Linked DNA regions of Homo sapiens: regions 1, 3, 4, 5 and 6 are each linked to region 2. The links are contacts of gene promoters, found by promoter capture Hi-C in blood cells and fetal thymus (Javierre and others, 2016). All regions are on one chromosome and are shown on one strand. The core of a region is centred on a gene start or on the middle of the fragment in contact, and the rest is flanking DNA. Distances in the headings are between cores, read along the strand shown.

Region 1 (4,461 bases), core at 615-3,114, about 39 Mb before region 2:
TTGGTCTGGTCTCTTCGGCCCCACCCTCACTGCCTCCACCTCTGCTTCCTTTCTCTTCCTCCTCTTCCCCCAGTTCCAGGTCCATCTCGTTGCCTGCCTCTGAGGGTGTGCAGGTGGAGCTGCTAATGGAGCGGTGGCTGAAGAAAACAATTTGCTTGAGCCCTTTGTTGTAGAAGAAGTAGTTGAAGGACCAGAGGGTATCTTCTTCTCTGAAGGCATCTGGGTCCATGTCTGGGTTATAGCTGTGGGTGTCTCATTAAGCCAGGTGGATCTCCTCATCCACTGTGTTCCACAGCTGTGTTCTAGGACCTTGATGTCCCCCCACGCAGCTGAGAACAGACTGCGGTTGACTGCATTCACCACCCACCTGAGGCTGGGCTTCCGGCTGAACCCATGGCTGCGGGCTGTGCTGAGGTCATAGTCAGGCCTGAAAGGACTCGCTGAGCATGACAATCAAGTGGAAGAGGGTCTTGCAATTGCACTTGTCCCTGAGGGGGGCCCTTGTCCTTGCCACCTTGGTTCTTGCTCAGGCTGCTGGGGCTGAGGCCTGAGGTCTGGGATGGGGAGAGAGCCTTCAGTATGTGGGCCGCCCTCCTGTCAGAACAGTGTTTGTCGTCTCCTGCTATCTTACGTGAGTAGCTCTCAATCCTGCTGATAATGTGGGTATCTTTGCTCTCTACAGTTAGCTGTGAGTTGATGGCTTCAAAGCCCAGTTCTCCAATAGCTTCCTGTCTCAGGGAGGGAGCTCCATGCTTGAGAGGGGCCATTGCTGCCTGCCTGGTGGGGCTAAATCAGGCCTGGCTGGGTCATCGGCACCGGTGCATAGGCAGGGCAGGCTCCGCACAGTGTGGGCTCCTCAGCACCAGAGGGTGGCACCGTGGCATCCACCTGGGCCACACTGTATCTGGGGGAAGAAACTCCATGGCAATGTTTCATTATACCTGGCCCTGCTGGCTCATCCAGGTGGTCACTATGACACATCCTTACCACACTGCACATTGCCTGCTTTAGCCACCAACATGCCACCAACCACCACAGATCACCTTGGTCAGCCAGCAACCTCCACCTCCCCCACCAGTCAATGTCTATCAGTCAAAATTCCTAGAACTAAATAAGTATAAAAGAAACTTAACTACTTCAACTTAAAAATAATTTGCTTCTGTCTGCCTATGAAAATGTTAATATTTGTGAAATCTGAGTGAAGGGTATATGGCAATTCTTCAACTATTCTTTCAACTGCTCTGTAAGCCTGAAATTATGTTAAAATAAAAATTCAAAAACAAAAGCCAAAAACCTTGTACCCTTAAGGGTTACTTGAGTTAGTGGTTCACAGCAACAGATACTCAAATCTGGTTTGTGTTACTTCTGAAAATTAAGCTTCATATCTTTTTCTTCATGGCTCTTTCTGGTGTAAAGTACAACTTGAATCTCATGTTAGAAGGTCTATCCCAACAAAGCCCAGACCACTGGACTCTAGAGGCTTCACGCATGTGGCAGACTCCTGAATATTGTCAGGCTTTATCTCCCATTTTCTGGCATTGCAGGTACTTTACTAAGGCATTTAGGTGCTAGCTCTTTGGGGCTCTCCAGGTCCAATTAGCATGATAAAGATATGTAATGGATCAGCTTGGGCTTCTGGGTCCCTCCAGATTGCATTCTGACTAAGTGCAGGCAAGCCGACATAGCCCGGAGGCAGGACAGTAAAAGTATACTGCTGTCCCTGCCACAACAGGGCAGAAGAGGATTAAGGTGGGGGTGGGCAGGATAAAGCATTTGCCAGGTCAATAGTGGCCCAGGTGCCAGGGACTGTGTGGATTTGCTCCAGTAAAAATACCGTCTCTGCAATTCTGGTTGTGATTCACCTCACCACTGGATTAGTCCGTGATGATCTGTGGTCATTTTCTATGACCTACTTGATTTGTACACTGATCAAACAAGTGAGTTAATTGTGGATTTGGTAGGAATCACTACCTTGTATCTTTCAAGTCTTTGGTGGTGGCATTAAGCTCATGTGAGGAGCAGAAAAAAAGTTTGTGAGAAGGCTGGCACACTGTAGGAGCTTGATAAATGATAGCTATCATCATTGTTGTTGTCATGTGTTATTGTCTTAGCCAAGTCAGGGTCAAAATTTACATTATCTTTTTTCTTTTTGAAATATCATATTTCATTGCTCCTAAGAAGCATACTGTTGTGTACTTTAACATCTCTGAAGTCAGGATATGATAATAGTTGATGGTATGTTGTGATTGCTGTTGTTTCGATTAAAATTGTGTTCATTTGTAGAGGATTTTTCTTTGCTTCTGCCTGTCACTTGGGGCACAGGCTGAGTTACCAATGAGAGTAAAGCTTCAGGACACCTCATTTGCATGGCCCTTCCAAGGTCCTGAAAGGGTTCCACCTCACAGCTTCATGGGATCAAATTACATATTTTTTTTCTGAGACAGTCTCAATCTGTTGCCCAGGTTGGAGTGCAGTGTTGCTATCTCAGCTCACTGCAAACTCTGCCTCCCAAGTTGAAGTGATTCCCATGCTTCAGACTCCAGAGTAGCTGAGGCACGTGCCACCACACCCAGCTAATTTTCTTTGTATTTTTAGTAGAGAGATGCAGTTTTGCCATGTTGGCCAGGATGGTCTCAAATTCCTGGCCTCAAGTGATCTGCCTGTCTCAGCCTCCCAAAGCGCTGGGATCACAGATGTGAACCACCACACTCAGCCTCATCATAGGTTTTTATAAAATTTGCAAGAGTAAGATATTTTGTATTTCTTTTTTAAAAGAGGGCATCAAATTATATAAGCTTTGGGTTCTACCCTTGCCAAGGAACTCATAATAATGTGAAACTACAGGTGGTCCCTAACTTTACGATGTTTCAGCTTATGATTTTCCAACTTTGTGATAGTGTGAAAACAATATGCATTCAGTGTGCTTCTCAACTTACAACTGGATAAAGTTGACTTATGATATAGTCACCTTATGATGGTTTATCAGGACATAACATCATCATAAGTTGAGGTGCATTTGTACATTAAATTCTCTGAGGTTTTTTTGATGGCACAAGTAGTACCAGAAAACTGCATGAGAACCAACTTTTGATTCAAATTATACGGGCAGATTTTACTTCCTCCATCCATGGCAAAATTGAAACATGCAACTTCTCTTGCTGTCCTACTATGCATGTCCCTTTCTTTCTCTTTTTTCTGTATATTTCTCATGGACCCCCTCCACAGAGGCCTTTAGTGTCTCAGCTTTATCTGGGGTCTAATAGACTTCTATCTGGAGTAGTTTCATTTTTAGTGGCACATCCAGTAATGGTATCTCTATTAATCAATGATGCCTTAGGTTCCATGAACATAGTACATAATAGGGTACTCAAGATGGGTCCCCCTGAGACCAGCAGGCTGGCCTGTGGAGTTTGGACAACACTGCCCCCTAGAGGTCTGTCTTGTAACCTGAGAAGATTAGCCCCCTAACAATTACTGACAGGGAGTTTCTTAAAAATCAGGAAGGATGCTCACTTTTATTTATTATTTATTTTTTATTATTATTATTTTTGAGACAGAGTCTTGCTCTGTTCCCCAGGCTGGAGTGCAGTGGTGCAGTCTCAGCTCACTGCAACCTCCACCTCCAGGGTTCAAGCAATTCTCCTGCCTCAGCCTCCTGTGTAGCTGGGATGACAGGCGCCTGCCACTACACCTGGCTAATTTTTAGATTTTAAGTAGAGACGGGGTTTTACCATGTTGGCCAGGCTGTTCTCGAACTCCTGACCTTGTGATCCACCAGTCTCGACCTCCCAAAGTGCTGGGATTACAGGCGTGAGCCACCGTGTCTGGCCTTATTTATATTTTTAAAAACAGGATCTCGATCTGTCACCCAGGCTGGAGTGTAATGGCATGATCATGGCTCCCTACAGTCCCCACTTCCTGGGCTCAAGCAATCTCTCCCACCTCAACCTTCCAAGTGATGGCAGTGGCAGCTTATCTGGAGCAGCTGCTGCAAAGACGCTGGCTGCAGTAGGGGAGGCACACCAGGGCTGTGTACTCCAGGAAGCTGGCAAGAGCCGGTGGAAGCTGGCAGGAGCCGGTGGAAGCTGGGAACAGGAGGAAGCCAGGACTCATTCCTGGTTGGAGAGACAGGAGCCCCACCCTCCCAGGTGCAGCTGCAACTGCCCAGCTGCCCTGCAGACCTAGGCATTCCTGCACTCTCGGGGGCCAGGAAGTCCCCCATGGCCCCATAGGCTTGGGAATGCCTGCTCCTGCTGCCTGGCCTCTCTCTGCTCCTGGCACCCACTATGATTGTGGAGCAAAGTGAGGCTGCCCAGCTGTGGCTGCAGACTCGGGCATTCCTGCAGTCTTGGGGGCCAGGGAAGCCCTCACAGGCTTGGAAATGCCTGCTTCTGCTGCCCAGCCTCTCCCCACCCATGGCCGCCCATAGGCCAATCAGCGTGCATTGCTGATCATTCCTCC
Region 2 (4,071 bases), core at 7-2,506:
AATGGAAGCAATACCTTACATGTACCAAAACTGTACATTATCTAATTATGAAAAAGCAAGGTTTTTCCAAATAATTATTTTCCAAATGTGAAGCAAAGGTTAAAACAGAATCTACTGGGGCTGAAGAAACTGTCAAAAGGAACAAAATTAATTTTAAAAAGTCACTGTAGGGGCTAGGCAGGTGGCTCACACCTGTAATCCCAGCACTGTGGGAGGCAGAGGCGGGAGGATCACATGAGGTCTGGAGTTCAAGACCAGGTTGGCCAACACGGGAAACCCGTCTCTACTAAAAATACAAAAATTAGCCGAGAGTAGTGGTGGGCGCCTGTAACCCCACCTACTCAGGGGGCTGAGGTGGGAGAATCGCTTGAACTCAGGAGGTGGAGGTTGCAGTGAGCCGAGATCGCGCCACTGTACTCCAGCTGGCTCATGCTTTGCAGGGACGAGGCGAGAGGATCATTTCCCAGTTCAAGACCAGACTGGAAAACATATCAAGGACGTGTCTCTACAAAAAGTAAAAAAAAAAAAAAAATTAGCCAGGCGTAGTGGCCTGCTCCTGTAGTCCTAGCTACTAGGGAGGCTGAGGCTGGAGGATCGCTTGAACCCAGGAGTTCAAGGTTACAGTGAGCTATGATGGAGCAGCTGCATTCCAGATTGGGTGACAGAGCAAGAACTTGTATCTAAACAAAACTAAAAAGTCACCGGGGATGCTGACATCAAGAAAAATTGGTGAAAGGTATTTGAGAACTCTGTACTATCTTTGCAACGTTATTTTAAAGTGAAAAGTTAATTTAGGGAGAAAAGTCACTCCAATTTCATCGTGAACTTCCTTGCAATTGTTTCATTTATTCATCCAAGAAACGTGTATTCAATGCCTACTATGTAACAGACACTGTTCTAAGCTCCCGGGATACCGCTGTGACACAGAAAACAAATCTCAGCCCTCCAAGAGCTGGAGGGAGTGGGTACTAGAAGTCTGCGAGCTGGACGGAAGGGACTCAGCATTACAGCACTCAGCATTATTTCAGGGCTTGACAGTAAAGCCAAAGAAACGCTGATCTCGCGAGGGGACGAACAAAGGTGATGTTCCCCCATCCCAGCACCCTCCCTCGCCACCTCGGCCGCGTCCAGAAGCGTCTCATTCAGATAGAGGTACCCAGCCGGGCCCCAGGTCTCACCTGGGTCAGCATTGTCCCGCTGAGAGCTTTCAAACAACAGGTGTACGCGAATCAGTATCAAAAAGCCTCCAGGGAACTGAAAAAAACAGTCTGACTTCCGGGATTCGCGGGCATCCACTTTCATTCTCACGTTTCCTCTTCAATTTCTCGCGAGATACTGATTTGCTCGCGCTATAGAATTCTTGTCGAAGAGGCTTAGCTCCCGCGGGAGATTTCGTGCGCAGTTACTTCCGGTAGCTGGTAAAGGCTGATACTTCCCAGGACGCGGAGGTAACGGGCCAGGGCCAAAGCGACTTTCGCTACTTGGATTGGTCGGCGTAGCTTTGGGCGGCCGGACCTTAGAAAGTCACACATCTGCGCGCCTGTGCGGCCCCTGCTTCTGCGGATGCTGAGGTGGGAGGATCGCTTGGGCAGAAGTTTGAGGTTGCAGTGACCCGTGATCGCGCCACTGCACTGCAGCGTGGGCGACAGAGCGAGGCTTTGTCTCAAAAATAAATAAAAAGTCGCATATTGTGCTGAACAGTGTGTATATGCATGGGGCTCAATAAAGGAATGAGTTTTGGGGTTATGTTGTATGATGACTGATTTAAAATATTCTCAAAGCGAAGCTAGTTACTGACTTAATCTACCAAATCTAGTGACCCCTGTTAACCTAGACATTCAGTACCCAAGGATAAAAGGGTGGAATATAATGAAAAAGAAATTAAGTCATGCTTTTCCCCAGACCTGGCCCATGGGGATAATCTCTCCTTTTAATGGAGAGTGTTAAACTGAAGTAGGCATGTAAAGCGGTTACAACAGTGATTAGGAAACAGTAAATGCCCAAATGTTAGCTGCTATTATTTTCACTATTGTGATCATTGTGATTTTTGTCGCGTTGATACCAAATGCGTGAAGACCAAAAGGACCCTCCACTCTAGCCTCCCCAATTCACCTTTACAAGGGAGCAATGTTTAATGGTTCTCCAAGGAAGATGTTTATTACACCTATTTTGACACGAATAGAAGTTTATTTGCTCTTTTGGTGTCATGCTTCAGTAACTATCATTTGTAGCAGCAATCAGCAATTAGAAAAAACCGGTTTGATATGGTCCCTGATAGTTAATAATCATCATTTTGAGTTGTTCCTTGATGCTCATATCAATATACGTACATGCTATAGGTACAAGTCTTATATTCATGTAAAAACATGTCTTTCCTTCTAATCTGATTTGAAGCTTAATATATTTATTTATTTAAACAAGTTTCCAAGTCACCTAAAAAATGCATCTTATTAGAATTTAGATTTGGTACAAAAGACTATGATAATCAGGAATGAAATGATGCCATCTCTTGGATGCCGTCTGTTTAATGTTTGTGGAAAAGTCGGTCTAACCTTTCAGCCTCTGTATTTTTTATAATTTTATAAATTTATATTTTATAAATATTTTATAAATTTATACTTTATAAATATATTTTATATAATTTATTTTTCTATGTTCATTCCAGAATGTTGCAATTAATTAATACAGTGGTATTGTATTTGCAATGTAGGCACGTAAAAAAATTTGAAGAAGGGAATTTCGCGGCATTCTTGGCCTGGCTTCCTGGCGTAGCCAGCAAGTTCGGAGGTGTTAACCGCTGCTGTCATGTTTCTTTTGCTAAACTGCATCGTCGCTGTGTCCCAAAACATGGGCATCGGCAAGAACGGGGACCTGCCCAGGCCGCCGCTCAGGAATGAATTCAGGTATTTCCAGAGAATGACCACAACTTCTTCAGTAGAGGGTAAACAGAATCTGGTGATTATGGGTAGGAAGACCTGGTTCTCCATTCCTGAGAAGAATCGACCTTTAAAGGATAGAATTAATTTAGTTCTCAGCAGAGAACTCAAGGAACCTCCACAAGGAGCTCATTTTCTTGCCAGAAGTTTGGATGATGCCTTAAAACTTACTGAACGACCAGAATTAGCAAATAAAGTAGACATGATTTGGATAGTTGGTGGCAGTTCTGTTTATAAGGAAGCCATGAATCACCTAGGCCATCTTAAACTATTTGTGACAAGGATCATGCAGGACTTTGAAAGTGACACGTTTTTTTCAGAAATTGACTTGGAGAAATATAAACTTCTGCCTGAATACCCAGGTGTTCTCTCTGATGTCCAGGAGGGGAAACACATCAAGTACAAATTTGAAGTATGTGAGAAGGATGATTAATATGAAGGTGTTTTCTGGTTTAAGTTGTTCCCCCTCCCTCTGAGAAAAGTATGCATTTTTACATTAGAAAAGGGACTTTTGTTGACTTCAGATCTATGGATAATTATTTCTAAGCAACGTGTTTTTATTCCTCACTAATCTTGGCTATATCAGATACCATTTATGAAACATTCTTGCTATAACTGTCTCTCCAAGACCCCGACTGAGTCCCCAGCACCTGCTACAGTGAGCTGCCATTCCACACCCATCACATGTGGCACTCTTGCCACTCCTTGACATTGTCAGGCTTTTCTAATGTTGGTAGTATTTATTAAAGATGAAGATGCACATACCCTTCAGCTGAGCAGTTTCACTAGTAGGAAATACCAAAAGCTTCGTACATGTATATCCAGAGGTTTGTAGACAAATGTTGCAGCCTTTTTTGTAACAGTGAAAAACTGAAAACAACCTGGAAGTCCAGTGATGGGAAAATGAATATATTTCTGTCTTAGATTGGGGAACCCAAAGCAGATTCCAAGACTGAAATTTAAGTGAAAGCAGTTTATTTGCTAGGTCATACCAGAAGTCATCAATCGAAGTATGGAGAAATGGAACTGAGAAGGTAAAAACCAGTTCAAAATCAGTGAGGAGGTTCTCAATGGTAACGAGCTCCATACTGCTGAGATACAGGGAAACGGAGGGGAGAAAGCTAGAGTATTTAAC
Region 3 (4,486 bases), core at 1,517-4,016, about 25 Mb before region 2:
AAGTTAAAAATTCTCTGAGCTTTAATATTCTCACAAAAGAACTGATGTACAGATCTAATGATGTAACAAACGAGTTAGCACTCTATAAAGTTATAAATGTTAACTATTGCTTTAGTGTGAGCTCCTATACTCATGGAGGCTTTGTGAATGAGGTAAATATGTTACAGCTGAGCCTTGACGATTTAGCAGGGGATTGGAAGAAATGTATTTGAGAAAGAAAAGCCACAGTGGTGATGCCAAACATGCCTGTTCTGAAGATAACAAAGTAGTCTCTCAAACAACATGCAGGCACTTTAACATTAGTACTTCCACTGTTATTAAGTACAGACTTTATTTCTTTACTCTGACACCTTAAAACAACCCTCCATCCCCACAACCTAATTGAATGATTAAGTGTAAAGTGAATTACTAAGTCAGTGTGCCCCAAATTTCTTTAGATCACCAGTACATACCACAGCATCAAACCGGTTATGATAAATTTCTGCCTGGCTCTGCTCAATGTATTGTTGTTTAGCATGAATAAAAGCTGGTATTCCCCCATACACCCAGCCAATGATGCCTGCTGTAGCTGCCGTCTTACAGATATTAGCAAGGTCCTTTGAAATTCTCTGCTGTTCACTACAACATCAAAAAGACAATGTTGTTTGGGATTAGTTTATGGACATTGCTCTCCAAGAGACTCTATAATCAGAATTAACCCAAATGCTACCACCACAACATTTTTCATCATAGGTAGAATTCTCAGATGAATTAAACAGTTCAGTTATATTAAAAGGAACGTAGTCTCAGACAAAACGAAGCTATGGTGTTAGAATTAGGATAGTGGCAACTCCTGAAAAGACAATGACCGGAAAAGGCACAAGGGGAGCTTTTGGGATGTTACAATAGTTGCCATTTCTTTCTTAGTGCTGGGTACAGCTATGTTCAGTTTGTGAAAATTCATCCATCAGTATACTTAGGCACATTTTTCGAAATGCATTTCCTACTCCAATAAAAAGTTTTTTAAAAGGTGCTTTTGATGACTATTACACCCCTAGAAATAGGAAGAATTTGTGAGTTGGATAGAGAGACCAATATTTCCGTTTAAATCTTAAGTTAACTTTTAGAAATCACACCAACTCGTGAGATTTTAGGGCAATGTATGAAAGAATAAAAACGTGGATGTAAGACAAAAAATCTAAATTCTATTTTACTAAATAATTTCATGAAATACTCAGATAGGACTGTACTAATAAAAGCACTGGGCTGGGCACAGTAGCACACGCCTGTAGTCACAGCTAACTTAGGAGGCTGAGGTAGGACTTGAGCCCGAGTTCAAATCCAGCATAGCAACATAGCAAAGATCCTGGCTCTAAAAATAAACAAATAAATGTTTTTTTAAAAACGCACTGGGAAAGTTCACTATGCAGTGGGTGGCACATGCCAATCTAAAATAACAAGGAAAAACTACTATTTAATTCGATTTGTTACTCTCAAATGCATAAGAAGCTAGAACTGCTAATGAAGCTTCCAAGATGTCATCCTGAGACTGCTCTAACAAATAGCTGTCTTAAGTATTAAGTTACTATAAAATAATTGCCCTTCTAGGCCGGGCGCAGTCCAGCCGCGGTGGCTCAGGCCTGTAATCCCAGCACTTTGGGAGGCGGAAACAGGCAGATCACGTGAGGTCAGGAGTTCCAGACCAGCCTGGCGAATGGTGAAATCCTGTCTCTACTAAAAATACAAAAATTAGCTGGGCATGGTAGTGGGCAACTGTAATCCCAGCTACTCTGGAGGCTGAGGCAGGAGAACCGCTTGAACCTGGGAAGTGAAGAGTGCAGTGAGCCAAGATCGCACCACTGCACTCCAGCCTGGGCGATAGAGCGCGACTCAGTCTCGAAAAAAAAAAAAAAAAGAAAGAAAAATACGAGTTTGGGCTGGCGCGGTGGCTCACGCCTGTAATCCCAGCACTTTGGGAGGCCGAGGTAGGCGGATCGCCTAAGTCCAAGAGTTCAAGACCAGCCTAGGCAACATGGTAAGAACCCTGTCTATAAAAAATACATTAAAAAAAAATTAGCCGGGCGTGGTGGTGCGCGCCTGTAGTCCCAATTAATCGGGAGGCTGAGGTGGGAGGATCACTTGAGTCCCAGAGGCAGAGGTTGCAGTGAGCCGAGATAGCACCACAGCACTCCAGCCTGGGCGACAGAGCAAGACCCTGTCTGGAAAAAAAAAAAAAAAAAAGAAAGAAAAAAGATACAAGCTTGGGTTACAAATATCAGAACCTCAAATATAATCTAAAAATGAAGCACACCATCCTTGGTGTCCTAAGGCTGACCCAGGCTGCCCACGCTGCAGGACACCGCTTTCGCGGCCCCCTACCCCACTTCACACCCTAGGCACTTTTACTCTTTGCCAAACAGCTCCCGGAGGCGGTCCCATCCAGATTCCGGGTAATAGGGCTCTGGGACGTAGGGAAGCCGCTTCTGACGCTCCTCAAGGACTTCCGAATCGGCAGTCACAGCTTCGGCAGCAAAGACTCGGGGAAATAGGCACAATGCTCTACAGAGAAAGCTCCGCGGTGCCGGTGGCGGCACCTCCATGGCCTTCTCTCGACCTACGGACAAACTTGAGCGCTCAGGACTTCAAGTCCTCGCGGACGTGCCGCGGGAGAGCGTAACTGTACGAGGTGAGAATCCGTGCATTTGACCCAGGTTAACCCTCTGCCAGAGGGCTCGACACCCACACCTTCAGTCCCCGGCCTCGCTTTGGAGTCCTTGGAAATACGACACAGGAAGTCCCGCCCGACCGGGGCAAAGGCCAGGGGGCGGGGCGACGGCGAAGCCGGAGCCCAAAAGACTTCCGGTTGAGGGCGGGTTGGGCCACTGCTGTGCTGAGTGCACCCCCGGAAGTGAGTTGGCTGCCAGTAGTGAAGCTCAGCGTGGTCCCGGCAGGCCTTCGCTCCGTGTTTGTGGTTCCTGGGTCATGCAAACGGTGTCTGCGGCTACTTATATTCAGCTTGAGGTGGTCATAGGTTGAAGTAATTTATCGTATTTAAAATGCCAGGAATTAGCCGGGCATGGTGGCGGGCGCCTGTAATCCTAGCTACTCGGGAGGCTGAGGTAGGAGAATCGCTTGAACCCGGGAGGCGGAGGTTGCAGTGAGCCGAGATCACACCACTGCACTGCAGCCTGGGCAACAAGAGCGAAAATCTGTCTCAAAAAAAAAAAAAAAAGGCAGGAATCCCGCTTCAGTAAGGAAGAAAGTGCAATATTCAGTGCAAGTGGAGTAGGGAAAGAGGGAAAGGCGATTTGTGCAAAAACAAGTCCAACCTACTCTGCCAACATTAGAGAAGCCTTCCAGGCTGGGCGGGGTCCGTTTGTACCTTGTCAGTTCTGCTGGAAAAAAAACGAGGCATTGGGGATGGGTGTTGGTGCCAGTTACACTAAGATTTCGAGAACACTTTTTTGAAGAATCAGCTTTTTGGCAGGTCTTCCTAAGGTGGATTTCACTCCCTTTAGTTCATATGCCTACTGCTTCTCAAAAGGCAGGAGAATTTCTGGAATTTCTATCAAGTGTTTGTATAATTTGCCGTCACTACAACCTCTGCTAACATATGCTTCGAAGTACAGTTTTCATTAAAATGAATGCATTTAAAATATTCTCAATATTCGTGTAATTTCATTCAATCCTTGTTAACAAGCATACTCCCTTATTCATTTTGCCAATCCCTTCACCTCCTTGATTCCTTTCTAGTTGTCAATCAAAACTGCCACACTGTAGTAGAATACAGTAAGTGGACTTAGGAATTTGATAGCTGGAAATGCTACACATAAGTCCCTGAGAAGTGACTGACTAGAGTGACCAGCTCAATTAGTGACAGCGCCATGAAGACTACTCTGGGATATGAGATTTGATTCAGCACTCATCGTAGCACTTACAACACTGCATCATAATTTCCTATTAATCTGTCTCAATAAACTATCCTTGAGATCACAGACCAAATATATTCATCTCTGTATCTCCAGGACCTAGAACCGCAGTAGGTGCTCAGTAAATATTTGTTGAATAATTCAGATCTCCTGACTTCTGGCTCTGGATTACTGCTTATCCCATGTTAGGTAGAAGTGGGCACCAAGATAAGTTACCAAGGCCTGAAAGCCCAAGAAAATGGCTGTACAGTCTGTTTCTAACCTATATGTAGAAAAAGCTAAATGCATAAGATGACCCCAGAATTATTCTGGGGTGAAGGAGGACTTGAAATGGGTAGGAGGGTTTGGGTGGGTGTTGGGAAGATACTGACACAATCACTTATGTACAACTCAAATGCCCCAGGATTCACTAGCCTGTAGATGAGGTAATATTAACAGGCAAATTTTAAATTCCATAACTTGTTTCTCATTTGGGTAACGGAAGACTCATTTGTAATGTTCCTTTTGCCACCTGATAACTCAAAAAACTCCCCTCTCCTTTGGCTACTGCTCGCACTGTTGCTGCTCTTCCATCTGAG
Region 4 (4,235 bases), core at 1,374-3,873, about 42 Mb before region 2:
TTCCCCTTAGGAAAGTAGCCAAAGCTGGTGAGGTTGCATTTAAAAAAAAAAAAACAAAACAAAAAACAGGCAATCCTATACACTGTCATGTAAAGTAGAGTAAGTTTTCAGGAAACCAATTTGGCAACATATATACAGATTTTTAAAATATATTTATACTGACCAGGCACTGCGGCTCACACCTGTAATCCCAGCACTTTGGAAGGCCAAGGTGGGAGGACTGCTTGAGCCCAGGAGTTGAGACCAGCCTGGGCAACAAAGCGAGACCCTGTCTCTACCAAAAAAAAAAAAAAAAAAAAATTAGCTGGGTAGGAGGCTGAAGTGGAAGGATCACTGGAGCCCAGAAGGTCAAGGATGCAGTGAGCCATGATTACACCACTGCCCTCCAGCCTGGGTGACAGAGTAAGACCCTGTCTCAAGGAAAAAAAAAAAAAAATTCTGTCATCCCAGCACTTTGGGAGGCAGACGCGGGTGGATCACCTGAGGTCAGGAGTTCAAGACCAGCCTGGCCAACATGGTGAAACTCCATCTCTACTAAAAATACAAAAATTAGCCAGATGTGGTGACACATACCTGTAACCCCAGGTACTCTGGAGGCTGAGGCAGGAGAATTGCTTGAAGCTGGGAAGCAGAAGTTGCAGTGAGCTGCTGCACTCTAGCCTGGGCAACAGAGTGAACTCTGTCTCAAAAAAAATAAATAAACTTACACCCTTTGACCCACTAATTCCTCTTCTGGGAAAATCTACGGAAATGGTCAAAAATTGTTTTAAAAGGGGTGCAGGGCCGGGTGCAGTGGCTCACACCCATAATCCCAACACTTTGGGACGCCAAGGTGGGTGAATCACTTGAGGTCAGGCGTACAAGACCGGCCTGGCCAACATGGTGAAACCCTGTCTCTGCTAAAAATACAAAAAAAAAGTTGCCAGGCATGGTCGTGGGCACCTGTAATCCCAGCTACTTGGGAGGCTGAGGCAGGAGAATAGCTTGAACCTGGGAGGCAGAGGTTGCAATGAGCCAAGATCGCACCATGGCACTCCAGCCTGGGCAACAAGAGCAAAACTCCGTATCAAAACATAAAAATAAAAAGGGGTGCAGGAGGGGGTTCATATTAAATCAGCCTCCTAAGTTAACTTTGGCAAAAGAAAAACAGCTTCTGGAGGCTTCATCTAAACCTAGTAGGATCTACCTGGGAAAGGGCTAGGCGATGTTCCAGGGAAGAATTGAGCAATAGGCCCCAACAGAAAGAGTGTACAGGAGCACTGACAGGCCTTTCCAGAGGATGATCTAACATCTCCCTCAGCCCTAACAGAGTAGGTTAGAAGTAGCCCCAGGGGAGAGAAAGCACTCCTAGCACCACAAACCATCACTAAATTTACATTTCACTCTCAAGTGTCAAAAGGAACTGTTACCTTTGGACCCTTGTCAAATGCGAATTTATGACATCTGAATCAATATTAGACAAATATAGAGCTGTTCAAATCTCCTCACTTTAAGACCCCATCCCTCCCCCAGTGCCTCCCTCATGGTTGTGAGTTGTGCCTGAATACTCTTCATCTGTAAGAGTTTCACTTCTGCACCTTCCCGTTGGTTAATTCGTTCAGCACAACGGTCCAGACTCACCCACCAGTCACGGACACACTGGGCAAGCCTGGTTTCAAGTCAGGGATCACCTCTCCAAAATGGGCCGCCCAGCTTATCTCTGAAGGCCAGCTGGATTCTCGCCTCAAAACCCAGGCGGTGGGTGGCAGTGTTTCAACTGCTCAGTCCAGCCAAACATCGAGAGTAGCCTGCGCACTCCCAGAAAGGCCACCTGCTTCCGACACGTGCCTTTGCTACCCATCAAGGCGAGGCATGCTAAGGCCCTAAAGAGCTCGACCAGGCATTCTGCGGGCAGAAGTTCCACAAGTTCCTGCACGCGCACATCCCCCATTTCATGTTAGTGGAGTATGCCCAAGTTCAGTTTTCCTGCTTCCACAAAGGAGAAAGAACCTACCATCACTCTTTCATGGGGCACGAGAATAAGCACATGGTTTTTACTGAGCGCCTATCATTTTGCTATCTATGGTCTAACGATACACTTGTGAAGGAAGAATTATTATTAAAATGACCCACAGAGATTTAATAAGTTGCCCAAAAGCTTATGTTAAGTGTTGAGCTGGCTAGAGACGAGCCAGATCCGTCTAAATCCCAAGGGTTAAACAGTATGAAAAAGCACACAGGTGCTTCTGCTGGTTATACCCGCCTCCACGAGAAACGCTACAGGTTTTCAAGGTGAACACCCTTGCTCCGGCCCCTCCAGGCACCGTGCGGATTGGCAGGGAGGCCTCGGACGCCGCAAGCCGGGCACGCAGTGATAGGTCGCGGACGCCAGGGGCGGGACTCACTTAGGCCCCTCAGGACTCACTCGCTTGTGCTGCGCGTCAATACGGCGTTGGCCCCCTCCCAGCAGCGCGGTCCGGCGCTTGTTTTCGATGCGTTCGTTAACAGAGGTGGCCTGGCTGCAAAGGCTGCGGACCGCGGCGCGGAGACCGCTCGCCAGAACGCTGAGCCTTGCCCCGACCGCCGCCACCCGTAATGCCGCCGCCATTTTTGCTGTGCCGGCGCGTCCCCTACCGGCGCACCTGAGTACGCATGTGCTAAAGCGTGGGTACGGCGCTTGCGCAGCATCGGCTGGCTGTAGGGAGCCGCGGGGGCTGGACTACAGAACCTGCTTGGGAGTAAGGCGTGAGAGTTCGAGACCCGGTGCTGCCCGAGGAGGGTCGCGCAGAGAAAAAGTACAGGGCCTGCCTGGCTGCACAAAAAAGGGACATAGTCCTTGCTCTTCTCTGACCACCTAGACCCTTAACTTTGTCGTCCCACTTCCTACAGAAAATGATTATAAGATTTAACCAACATTTATTAAGCATTGTGCCAGGTGTTGCTTTTTGCACTTACCATGCACTAGCTTACTATCTGGATTTCACAGATGAGGTAAATCAAGCACAGAGAGATGAGTGATTTGATCAAGAGGCAAGACTGAGGCCGAGGTAGGTGAGCCCAGGAGCCCAAGACCAGCCTGAGCAATATAGTAAGACCCCACCTCTACAAAAAAATTAAAAATTAGCTGGGCATGGCGGCTTGCACCTGTGACCCCAGCTACTCGGGAGGCTAAGGCGGCAGGATGGCTTGGCCCAGGAAGTCGAGGCTGCAGTGAGCCGTGATTGCATCACTGCACTCCAGCCTGGGCAAAACCCTGTCTCAAAAAAAAAAAAAAAAAAAAGCCAAGACTGACAATGTGGTTGGCCAGGATTCAAACTCAGAGACCTATCATTAATATGTGCCAGATAATGAGCACAGGACCCTTAACCTCTAATCAGTAGTTCTCAAAGTATGGATCCCATTAAAGAAAAAACTATTCATGACACTTAATTATTCATGTTTAAGAATGGTAAGGCAAACTTTATTCAGGCCCAATCTGACAGAGGTAGGGATAGAGTTTTGCCATAAGTCAGAGCGATTGGGCTGAATATAGCAAAGTGGTAATTTATAGCTAAGGGGCAGTGTGTGGAAGTCAGTGGATGGAAAATTACTAAGAGGAAACATTGGCGGGGAATCTGGCTAAATTGACCTAACAGGATTCCTGCCCAAGGCAGGTCAGGGTAACTGAACATCACCTGGGGGATGGTGGCGGTATGGGTCAAAACCAGATATGGAGAGTAATCAGATATCAAGAATGGAGGATTCTGGCTAAACTGACTTGGCAAGTTTCTTGCTAAAATGGAATTCCACAAGGAATGACATGGGAGCCCACACTCAGGCCTAGTCAAAGAGAGAGCTCAGAAGAGCCTGACCAATGTTTGATCAAGGAGGGAATCTTGTCAATCCAGCAACTTCAGTATCACCTGGGAGTGAGTTGGAAATGCAAGCTCGAATTCTCAGAACTTACTCCAGACCTTTAAATCAGAAACTCTGGGGCTGGGGCCAGCCATCTGTTTTAGCAGATGACCTTTAGGTGATTCTGATCTGCTTGCTAAAGTTTAAGAACCACTGCTCTAGGAATTTGGAATTGTACTGTTGAGAGCTTGACCATCTGTTTCTCCCACTAACAGGCAGGTCTTCAAGACAAAGAACATGGTTTATATTTCTCATTTTTAGCCACAGAAAACTGCTAAAGTTGATCATGAGCCCTTCCCAGATCCAGCTCATAGCCAGGGCCTTCATAAAGTACAAATTCTGACCTATGACCTTAATGTTAA
Region 5 (4,671 bases), core at 2,172-4,671, about 25 Mb before region 2:
CAAGAGAGCAGACAAAACCAGAATGGAGGCAACTTGTCCTAGGTGCTGCGTAATTAAACTCAGCTTTAAAAGGGGTCAGTTTTCCAACAAATAGGAGAAGGGGCCCATATACCTGAGCTGGCATGATAAAGAAGTCCCCTCTGATGTAACTCTTTGAGGAAAGTAACTTCAAAATGACCAATCTGCTTTTTGTTCCTTATTTCTGCTTTCTTCAGCCCTTTTCTGCCTATAAGCCCAACCCCTTCTGCTCAGCTCATTAGAACACTTTTCTGTTTTATAGATGAGATGCTGCCTGATTCATGAATCACTAATAAAAGCCAATTCGATTTTTTTTTTTTTTTGAGACAGAGGACAGTCTAACTCTGTTGCCCAGCCTGGAGTGCAGTGGCACAATCTTGGCTCACTATGACGTCTGCCTCCCGGGTTCAAGCAATTCTTCTGTCTCAGTCTCCCGAGTAGCTGGGATTACAGGAGTGTGTCACCATGCCCGGGTAATTTTTGTATTTTTAGTAAAGACAGGGTTTCACCGTGTTGGCCAGGTTGGTCTCAAACTCCTGACCTCAGGTGATCTGCCCACCTCGGCCTCCCAAAGTGCTGGGATTACAGGCGTGAGCCACCATGCCTGGCCAAGAACTTTAAACTAAATTTGATGAAATTTTGTTTCTTGACAGTGGGCAACATGATACTGGACAATATAGGTATATAGTATAGTACAGGTATATATCTTTATACAGGTATATATAGGTCAGTGTAGATATATTTAGTAATCATAGAACTACAAATATTTATCTATTTTCTTTTTTTTTTTTTTTTTTGAGATGGAGTTTCGCTCTTGTTGCCCAGGCTGGAGTGCAATGGTTCAATATCGGCTCACCACAACCTCCGCCTCCTGGGTTCAAGCAATTCTCCTGCCTCAGCCTCCTGAGTAGGTGGATTACAGGCTTGCGCCACCACACCCGGCTAATTTTGTATTTTTAGTAGAGATGGGGTTTCTCCATATTTGTCAGGCTGGTCTCGAACTCCCGACCTCCGGTGATCCACCAGCCTCGACCTCCCAAAGTGCTGGGATTGCAGGCGTGAGCCACTGCGCCCAGCAATATTTATCTATTTTCTAAAATGTACATGGTTATATCCCTAAGCCTTGTGGAAATATGGAAATACAGGGAAGTACAAGATCAAATCTGTGCTCCCAGGAGTTTAGAACTAGTAGGGAAGACAAATATGCTTCCTTAGAGATAGTTTACAATTTAAGGCAATAGTTAAGTGCCACTGGTTTCAGTGGAGGAAAAGATCAATATGAAGTGGAAATCTGGAGAAAGGGGTAGGAGGGGTATATTTTGTACTGAAGAAAAGGAAACGTTACAGTTAAGGAATATTGTGCTGGAGTCACTAAAAATATGGGAGCCATAATTTGCAGAAGGTGGGGATCAAATTTAGCTTGACAGTAGTGGAGGCTTTAGGATGCACGTTAAGGAATGGTGGAAGAGAAAATAATGTTGATTACCTAGGAATGGGCCGTATCGGTCACATATTACACCCATATGGGCATTTGGTCTATATTCCACCAGGGCAGAACCACCCAGTTTTTGTATGAGTGAGGCTCACTTTGGGTGAACAGACAGGAAAAAAAATGTATATCCAAAACTATAGCATATTTCTTCTGGAATCCAAATGAAACTTTAGTCAAAAATTTTTCTACTTCCAGGAAGGTGTGCAGTACAGTCATGTGTTGTTTGACAATGGGAATATGTTTTGAGAAATGTGTCAGGCAATTTTGTTGTGTGAACATCATAGATTATACTTACACAAACCTAGCTAGTATAGCCTACTACATACTGAGGATATTTGGCATAGCCTATTGCTCCTAGGCTACAAACCTATTCAGCATGTTACTGTACTGAATATTACAGGCAATTGTAACACAATGGTAAGTATTGGTGTATCTAAACATTGAAAAGGTACAGTAAATGAGTAAAAATGATACACCTGTATAAGGCACTTACCATGAATGGAGCTTGCAGGACTGAAAGTTGCTCTGGATAAGTCAGTGAGTGGTGAGTAAATGTGAACACCTAGAACATTACGCTACTATAGATTTTATAAACACTGTACAGTTAGACCATACTAAACTTATAAACACGTTTTTCTTTCTTCAGTAATAAATTAGCTTATTGTAACTTTTTTACTGTACAAACCTTTTTTTTTCAACTTTTTGACTTTGTAATAACACTTAGCTTAAAACACAAGCACATTGTACAGCCATACAAAAATATTTTTTCTTTCTTTCTTTTCCTTCCTTCCTCCCTCCCTCCCTCCTTTCTTTTCTTTTCTTTTTTTTTTTTTGAGACAGTCTCGCTTTGTTGCCCAGGCTAGAGTGCAGTGGTGCTATCTCAGCTGACTGCAACCTCTGCCTCCCAGGTTCAAGCAATTCTCGTGCCTCAGCCTCCTGAGTAGCTGGCATTACAGGTGTACACCATAACACCTGGCTAATTTTTGTATTTTTAGTAGAGACAGGGTTTCGCCATGTTGGCCAGGCTGCTGTCAAACTCCTGGCCTCCCAAAGTGTGGGGATTATAGGCATGAGCCACTGCATCCGACCTATTTTCTTTATTTCTATCTTTATTCTATAAGCTTTTTTCTATTTCTAAAATGTTTTATTTTGTTTTTTACTTTTTAAACTATTTTATTGAAAACTAATATGCAAACACACACGTGTGTGTTTGGGTCAGGCCTATGCAGGGTCAGGATCATCAATATCACCATCTTTCACCTCCACATCTTGTCCCTCTGGAAGATCTTCAGGGTCAAGAACACACATGGAACTGCCATCTCCTAGGATAACAATGCCTTCTTCTGGAATACCTTCTGAAAGACCTGCCTGAGGTTGTTTTACAGTTAACTTTCATTTTTTTAAAATAAGTAGAAGGAGTACAATCTAAAATAACAATAAATGTATAGTATAGTAAATATATAAACCAGTAACAAAGTAATTTATTATCATTATTTAGTATGTTATACTGTACATAATTGTATGTGCTATACTTTTATACAACTGGTAGTGCAGGTTTGTGTACACCAGGATACATTGCACTACAACATAAAGACAGCTACATCATTAGGCAATAGGAGTTTTTCAGTTTTATTATACTCTCATGGGCTCACCATCATTTATGTGGTCTTTCATTGAAACATCATTATGGGACACATGACTGTATTTAAAAATGAAAAAAAAACCAGAATGGTTGTACGAGTACTGGAAGTACAGTTTCTACTGAATGAGTGTTGGTTTTGCACCATCATAAAGTTGAAAAATTGTGAGTCAAACCATCCTAAGTTGGAGACTTGTGTGTATTCCTAAGTGACAGCTCTGTGGTACATTAGGACATTAGGAATATTTGGGAATATTAGCAACTTTACTGGTTTCGATATCAGTCATTCTGGCTCTAAATTCTGGTTCTGGCTCTTATTAGCCAGGCTATTTTCTTTTTTTTCTATTATTATTATTATTATTTTTGAGACAGGGTCTCTCTCTGTTGCCCAGGCTGGAGTGCAGTGGCACAATCTCGGCTCACTGCAAACTTGACCTCCAGGGCTCAAGTGATCCTCCCACCTCAGCCTCCCAAGTAGCTGGGACTACAGGTGTGAGCCACCATGCCCGATTTATTTTTTTACTTTTTTCATAGAGACAAGGTTCCACTATATTGCTCAGGGTGGTCTCAAACTCTTGGGCTCAAGTGATCCTCCTGCCTTGGCCTCCCAGTGTTGGAATTACAGTCATGAGCCACCCTGCCTGGCCAGGCAGGCTATTTTCAACAAGCTACTTAACTTCTCTTAACTTCAGTTTCTTCTGTAAAATAATAACCATAGTAGAAGCTATCAAAATGTGAGATTTAAATGAAATGTGTAAAGCTACTAATCCAGTGCCTGACACAACAAAATTCTTAATAAAGGTTAATCATTCAATCAATACAAACAACTTTCTATTAAGGAGATTAAAATCTCTGGAGTGAAAGATTACACAAATGCTCCTTTTGACACTCTTATCTTCTTCTAATACCAAACTATTGTCAATTCCTGAACTCAAGATGACGTTGCTCACAGATCTTTACCTTTTTATCTGCCACTTCTCCAGGAGGACTGCCATTCTCCCACAAAGCCCCTATGCCTTTGTGGAGTCTTGGCTGAAACCCCAAGCTCTCTGCAAAGCTTTTCTTGGTATTGACATCACCACCATCCCACAGAATTCGTTAGTGTTACATGCTATCTCTGGACCTTGGACACACTTTTAATATTGTAACAAATGGTAATTACTGTATTTTCTTAGTGTCGCCTCTCTTCCACTAGACTCTGAGCTTTTGTGGTATTCGCTTTGTAACCACAGCATCTGTCTAGTTCTTAGCAAACAATAAGCGCAGGGTTGGATGCTGACGCATGACTTCATGACTTGGGCTCCCTCACTTAGCAGTAACGTGACCCTAGGTGACACCTCCTAATCTACACTCATCTGTAAAATGGCGGTGATAACTTGTACATGGTTACTACATGGAGTCCAAGAGACAGCAAGAAGGATCAGTAGCATGGTGCCCGCACCTAGCAGCCGCTAGCTGACTGAGGCCGAAAGAGGAAATGCTTTGGCCAACACTGGCCGGAAGGGGCGGGACCGCGAGTTAA
Region 6 (4,223 bases), core at 1,724-4,223, about 25 Mb before region 2:
GAAAGCCACCCTAAAACCTCAAAAGCAGATTGGAAAGCTATCTTTAATTTTGTAGATATCACTGCTACTTGCTTTCCTACACTTACTGAAAGCAATAACCCAACTTCTCCAATTAATAACCTACCAGCTACCAAATATAGAAAAGCTGAGTGATTCTTTTTTTTTTTTTTTTTTAGATTAACTTGCTTGGCTCCTTTATTATTCTCCTTTATTATTAAACTTCCTCAGCATAATGTGATTTGGGCAGACAGAGATGTTATCCTGTGGCTTATTGTTGGCCTACATTCTCTTTTTTTTTTTTAAATTTATTTTTTTTTTAGTATTTATTGATCATTCTTGGGTGTTTCTCGGAGAGGGGGATTTGGCAGGGTCATAGGACAATAGTGGAGGGAAGGTCAGCAGATAAACATGTGAACAAAGGTCTCTGGTTTTCCTAGGCAGAGGGCCCTGCCGCCTTCCGCAGTGTTTGTGTCCCTGGGTAGTTGAGATTAGGGAGTGGTGATGACTCTTAGCGAGCACGCTGCCTTCAAGCATCTGTTTAACAAAGCACATCTTGCACTGCCCTTAATCCATTTAACCCTTAGTGGACACAGCACATGTTTCAGAGAGCAGGGGGTTGGGGGTAAGGTTATAGATTAACAGCATCCCAAGGCAGAAGAATTTTTCCTAGTACAGAACAAAATGGAGTCTCCTATGTCAACTTCTTTCTACACAGACACAATAACAATCTGATCTCTCTTTCTTTTCCCCACATTTCCCCCTTTTCTATTGGACAAAACCGCCATCGTCATCATGGCCCGTTCTCAATGAGCTGTTGGGTACACCTCCCAGACAGGGTGGTGGCCGGGCAGAGGGGCTCCTCACTTCCCAGACGGGGCTGCCGGGCAGAGGGGCCCCCCACCTCCCAGACGGGGCGGCGGCCGGGCAGAGGGGCCCCCACCTCCCAGACGGGGCGGCGGCTGGGCAGAGGCGCCCCCCACCTCCCGGACGGGGCGGCTGGCCGGGCGGGGGCTGCCCCCCACTTGCCGGGCGGGGCGGCTGGCCAGGCGGGGGCTGCCCCCCCACCTCCCGGGCGGGGCGGCTGGCTGGGCGGCTGCCCCCCACCTCCCGGACCAGGCAGCTGCCCGGCGGAGGGGCTCCTCACTTCTCAGACAGGGCGGCCAGTCAGAGACGCTCCTCACCTCCCAGACGGGGTGGCGGCGGGGCAGAGACACTCCTCAGTTCCTAGACGGGTCGCCGCCGGGCAGAGGCATTCTTCACCTCTCAGACGGGGTGGTGGGGCAGAGGCGCTCCCCACATCCCAGATGATGGGCGGCCAGGCAGAGACGCTCCTCACTTCCTAGACGGGGTGGCGGCCGGGAAGAAGCGCTCCTCACTTTCCAGACTGGGCGGCTGGGCAGAGGGGCTCCCCACATCCCAGATGATGGGCGGCCAGGCAGAGACGCTCCTCACTTCCTATACGGCGTGGCAGCAGGGCAGAGGCTGCAATCTCGGCACTTTGGGAGGCCAAGGCAGGCGGCTGGGAGGTGGAGGTTGTAGCGATCCGAGATCAAGCCACTGCACTCCAGCCTGGGCAACATTGAGCACTGAGTGAGCGAGACTCCGTCTGCAATCCCGGCACCTCGGGAGGCCGAGGCTGGCAGACCACTCGCGGTCAGGAGCTGGAGACCAGCCCGGCCAACTCGGCGAAACCCCGTCTCCACCAAAAAATACGAAAACCAGTCAGGTGTGGCGGTGCGCGCCTGCAATCCCAGGCACTCGGCAGGCTGAGGCAGGGGAATCAGGCAGGGAGGCTGCCGTGAGCCGAGATGGCGGCAGTACAGTCCAGCCTCGGCTCGGCATCAGAGGGAGACCATGCAAAGGGGAGACGAGGACCGTGCAAAGGGGGGAGGGAGATGGGGAGGGAGACAGAGAGGGGGAGGGGGAGGGGAAAAGCTGAGTGATTCTTGCAAAAGGTATATATTATGCTTCCAGGCATCATATGCTCAAGACCTGGGGACTATGTGGGTATAAGTAACTGATTGTATAACGCCACTGGATGAAATCCAGTAATGTCCTTTTTCACTAAATGTGGTTATACACCCTTACAGCATGTTACAAAGGGAACACAAAAAAATAAGTTTCACACTGGACCTTGTTCAGGAGCAGTGTTGACCTATTTCACTGACCTATCCTCAACTGCCACTAGGTGGCCCTCTTTTCCAGCTTCCAAGGGCCTACATTGGGCCTATGCGGCCTCAGTATAGCCTCAGATTTCCTGCTATGAAGCTTAATGAGCCCAGCACTGGCTCTAGCTATGGTTTGTTCCTTTTTGGGTGGAGTGGATGTGTGGTTCTTGGAGAATCTACTACTTTCCCGTGAGTGCAGTGGGAGACTGCATTAGAGAATCTAGCTATCCTGACTGCCTAAACAGAGCCTACCATAATTTTTCACTCAAATCTTTAGTGTAAATATAATTGTCTTTGCTTTCTGTAATAATATCTTTGAAGAAATACGGATTTAAAAAAATCATTTAATATTCTCAGACCTGCAACATGGGAAAAATATTATTATTATTATTATCATTTTTGCAGTTGAGAGGGCTGAAATCTCGCAGGGTGATTAAGTTTATTAGCCTCTCTAAAGTCTCAGTTTCCCACTCTGTAAAATGGAAGGGTCCCTATCTCTTTCCTACTGCTTTGTGAGTATTTAAGGGGATGGAATTTGGGAAGCGCTCAGCACCCAGTCTACTATTGGCACAGGGTTTTAAAGCCACCCAGAGGCCGAGGCGTCAACCCTCCGTTTCCCTCCCGGTGCTCCTTCCAGCGCCCGGTGTGGTCGATTTGGCGGGGGTGGAGCGCCAGGCGCGTGCAGAGCCGGGCGGACCAGCCTCTCCGGCCAAGGCGGGAGGCGGAGCTCGTACTCAAGAGCCGCCTCCCGGGCGGCTGGGGCGGTCCCCGAGCTGCTTTCCGCGTTCTCCCCTCTCCGCGGGCAGTGCTAGCTCGCCGCGGCCGCCTCCGGGGTGAGTACGCTGGCTCCGCCGGCGCCCGGGAAATGCAGTTCCCTGGACACGGGCGCCGTGCGAGGGTAGCCGGGCGACGGCCGGGGTCAGTCCCAGGGCTGTAGCGGGGCGGGCGTGGGGATGACGTGGCGGCGTCCGTGGGGCAGTCCCGCCTCAGCCGGAGCGGTGGGCCGGGCCGGGGGCCTACGGAGGCCGAGCCTGGCGGGAGGCACCGGCTCAGGTGCTGGCGTTCCGCGCGGCGCCGCCTCTGCTGCGGGCCGGGGGAGCCAGACGAGGTGCTGCCGGGTAGGAAAAAATCCAGGGCTCATTCATACCCCAGGTCACGATTCCGGGGTCGCCCCCAGCACTTCTCCGCCGGGTGCATCAACCTGAAAAAGCCCCTTCTTCCTGGAAACCCTCCTTCTCCAGCGTTTCAACGGGGAAACTGATCAGCTGACACCAGCCCCAGTCCTGCGAGGGGCCGGCGACCTTTGACCTTTCTCCAAAGGGGTTGGTCACCTGGATTATAAAAGACTTCGGAGACAGCCATCCAGTGTTTGTTGATCTGTATCCCTTGATGTTCTGTCTTCCATTAGATAAGGGCTGTTAATTCTTGGTTTGAAAAAAAACAGACAAAGTCCAAAGGACTCTGCATCGAGGAGAGGCCTATGGGTTGGTAGCCTTAGGAGAGTAGTTATCAACAGTGGGTGGGTGTGCACACTGTTGCAAAGTGTTCCAGAGTGGGTGAGGGATGGGGACGTGGCGGTGGTGAGGGTACTGGTAGACCTCCTCAGCCGTTTGGTGATGAAAAGGAGGAAAAAGAAAATGGTAATCTGAGCGTGGAGGCGAGTTGTGGCTTTTTTTTTTTTTTTTAAATTTTTAAAGAAAGGAAAATAACACCTTTAAGATGCAAGAAAATCAAGGAGAGATCAGGATGAATAGGATTCAGGGTCCGGATTGAGAAACTGGGATTCAGAAGGGAGGGCTATTCCCGAGACCCAGGCGGGGAGTGCTGGAAGGTCTCTCTTGGGAGAGGAGATAATGCTTGATTGGATATAGTTCAGAAGTTTTTGGAATTTTGTCTTCTAGAGCAGGTTTGTTCTTTATGGAAATTGTAAACCCCATGAAATTGCAATAACTTTCGTCTACCTATAGCTTTGATCAGATTGAAAACATACGTTGTGAAAAAGTACTGACCTGGATTGAACTGTTTGACTACATAATCTAAGGGGAAGTGGATAGA

The links. Contacts are between HindIII fragments. The CHiCAGO score rates a contact against its expected background, and 5 or more counts as called.
Region 1: a contact is called between a fragment that was not itself captured here and the fragment with the promoter of NSUN3 in region 2, in 2 of 17 cell types (naive CD8 T cells and activated CD4 T cells). The highest score is 8.1, in naive CD8 T cells.
Region 3: a contact is called between the fragment with the promoter of TIMMDC1 here and the fragment with the promoter of NSUN3 in region 2, in 3 of 17 cell types (naive CD8 T cells, non-activated CD4 T cells and total CD8 T cells). The highest score is 23.3, in naive CD8 T cells.
Region 4: the fragment with the promoter of PCCB here is called in contact with the fragment with the promoter of NSUN3 in region 2 in 2 of 17 cell types (total CD4 T cells and total B cells); the score reaches 15.7 in total CD4 T cells.
Region 5: a contact is called between a fragment that was not itself captured here and the fragment with the promoter of NSUN3 in region 2, in 1 of 17 cell types (non-activated CD4 T cells). The highest score is 8.1, in non-activated CD4 T cells.
Region 6: the fragment with the promoter of B4GALT4 here is called in contact with the fragment with the promoter of NSUN3 in region 2 in 4 of 17 cell types (naive CD8 T cells, total B cells, total CD4 T cells and 1 more); the score reaches 7.6 in naive CD8 T cells.

Annotation. Positions count from the first base shown.
Region 1 is chr3:133,487,072-133,491,532 of GRCh38, reverse strand. It overlaps BFSP2-AS1 (BFSP2 antisense RNA 1), which reads left to right and starts at 424. Exons shown (of 4, transcript NR_189064.1): 1 at 424-631. It also overlaps the pseudogene MAF1P1. RefSeq lists enhancers at 2,303-2,432, 2,453-2,502, 3,654-4,154. The HindIII fragment of the contact is 969 bases long and covers 1,380-2,348 here.
Region 2 is chr3:94,060,246-94,064,316 of GRCh38, reverse strand. NSUN3 (NOP2/Sun RNA methyltransferase 3) reads right to left here and starts at 1,256. Exons shown (of 6, transcript NM_022072.5): 1 at 1,179-1,256. The coding sequence starts at 1,190. It overlaps DHFR2 (dihydrofolate reductase 2), which reads left to right and starts at 1,401. Exons shown (of 2, transcript NM_176815.5): 1 at 1,401-1,571; 2 at 2,711-4,071. The coding sequence starts at 2,806. The coding sequence ends at 3,369. RefSeq lists an enhancer at 1,123-1,362. The HindIII fragment of the contact is 2,538 bases long and covers 1-2,396 here.
Region 3 is chr3:119,496,827-119,501,312 of GRCh38, reverse strand. TIMMDC1 (translocase of inner mitochondrial membrane domain containing 1) reads right to left here and starts at 2,766. Exons shown (of 7, transcript NM_016589.4): 1 at 2,386-2,766; 2 at 453-618. The coding sequence starts at 2,579. RefSeq lists an enhancer at 2,977-3,026. The HindIII fragment of the contact is 2,873 bases long and covers 2,242-4,486 here.
Region 4 is chr3:136,248,728-136,252,962 of GRCh38, reverse strand. PCCB (propionyl-CoA carboxylase subunit beta) reads right to left here and starts at 2,623. Exons shown (of 15, transcript NM_000532.5): 1 at 2,405-2,623. The coding sequence starts at 2,587. RefSeq lists enhancers at 2,149-2,198, 2,829-2,888, 2,118-2,984. The HindIII fragment of the contact is 10,493 bases long and covers 2,140-4,235 here.
Region 5 is chr3:119,463,752-119,468,422 of GRCh38, reverse strand. No RefSeq gene overlaps it. Among named protein-coding and RNA genes, the nearest start is that of TMEM39A, 2.5 kb to the right of the region's middle. RefSeq lists enhancers at 4,558-4,617, 4,648-4,671. The HindIII fragment of the contact is 1,575 bases long and covers 2,634-4,208 here.
Region 6 is chr3:119,239,628-119,243,850 of GRCh38, reverse strand. It overlaps B4GALT4 (beta-1,4-galactosyltransferase 4), which reads left to right and starts at 2,973. Exons shown (of 8, transcript NM_003778.4): 1 at 2,973-3,001. All of the region lies in intron 3 of B4GALT4-AS1 (B4GALT4 antisense RNA 1), which reads right to left. RefSeq lists silencers at 2,107-2,156, 2,807-3,286. The HindIII fragment of the contact is 11,429 bases long and covers 2,271-4,223 here.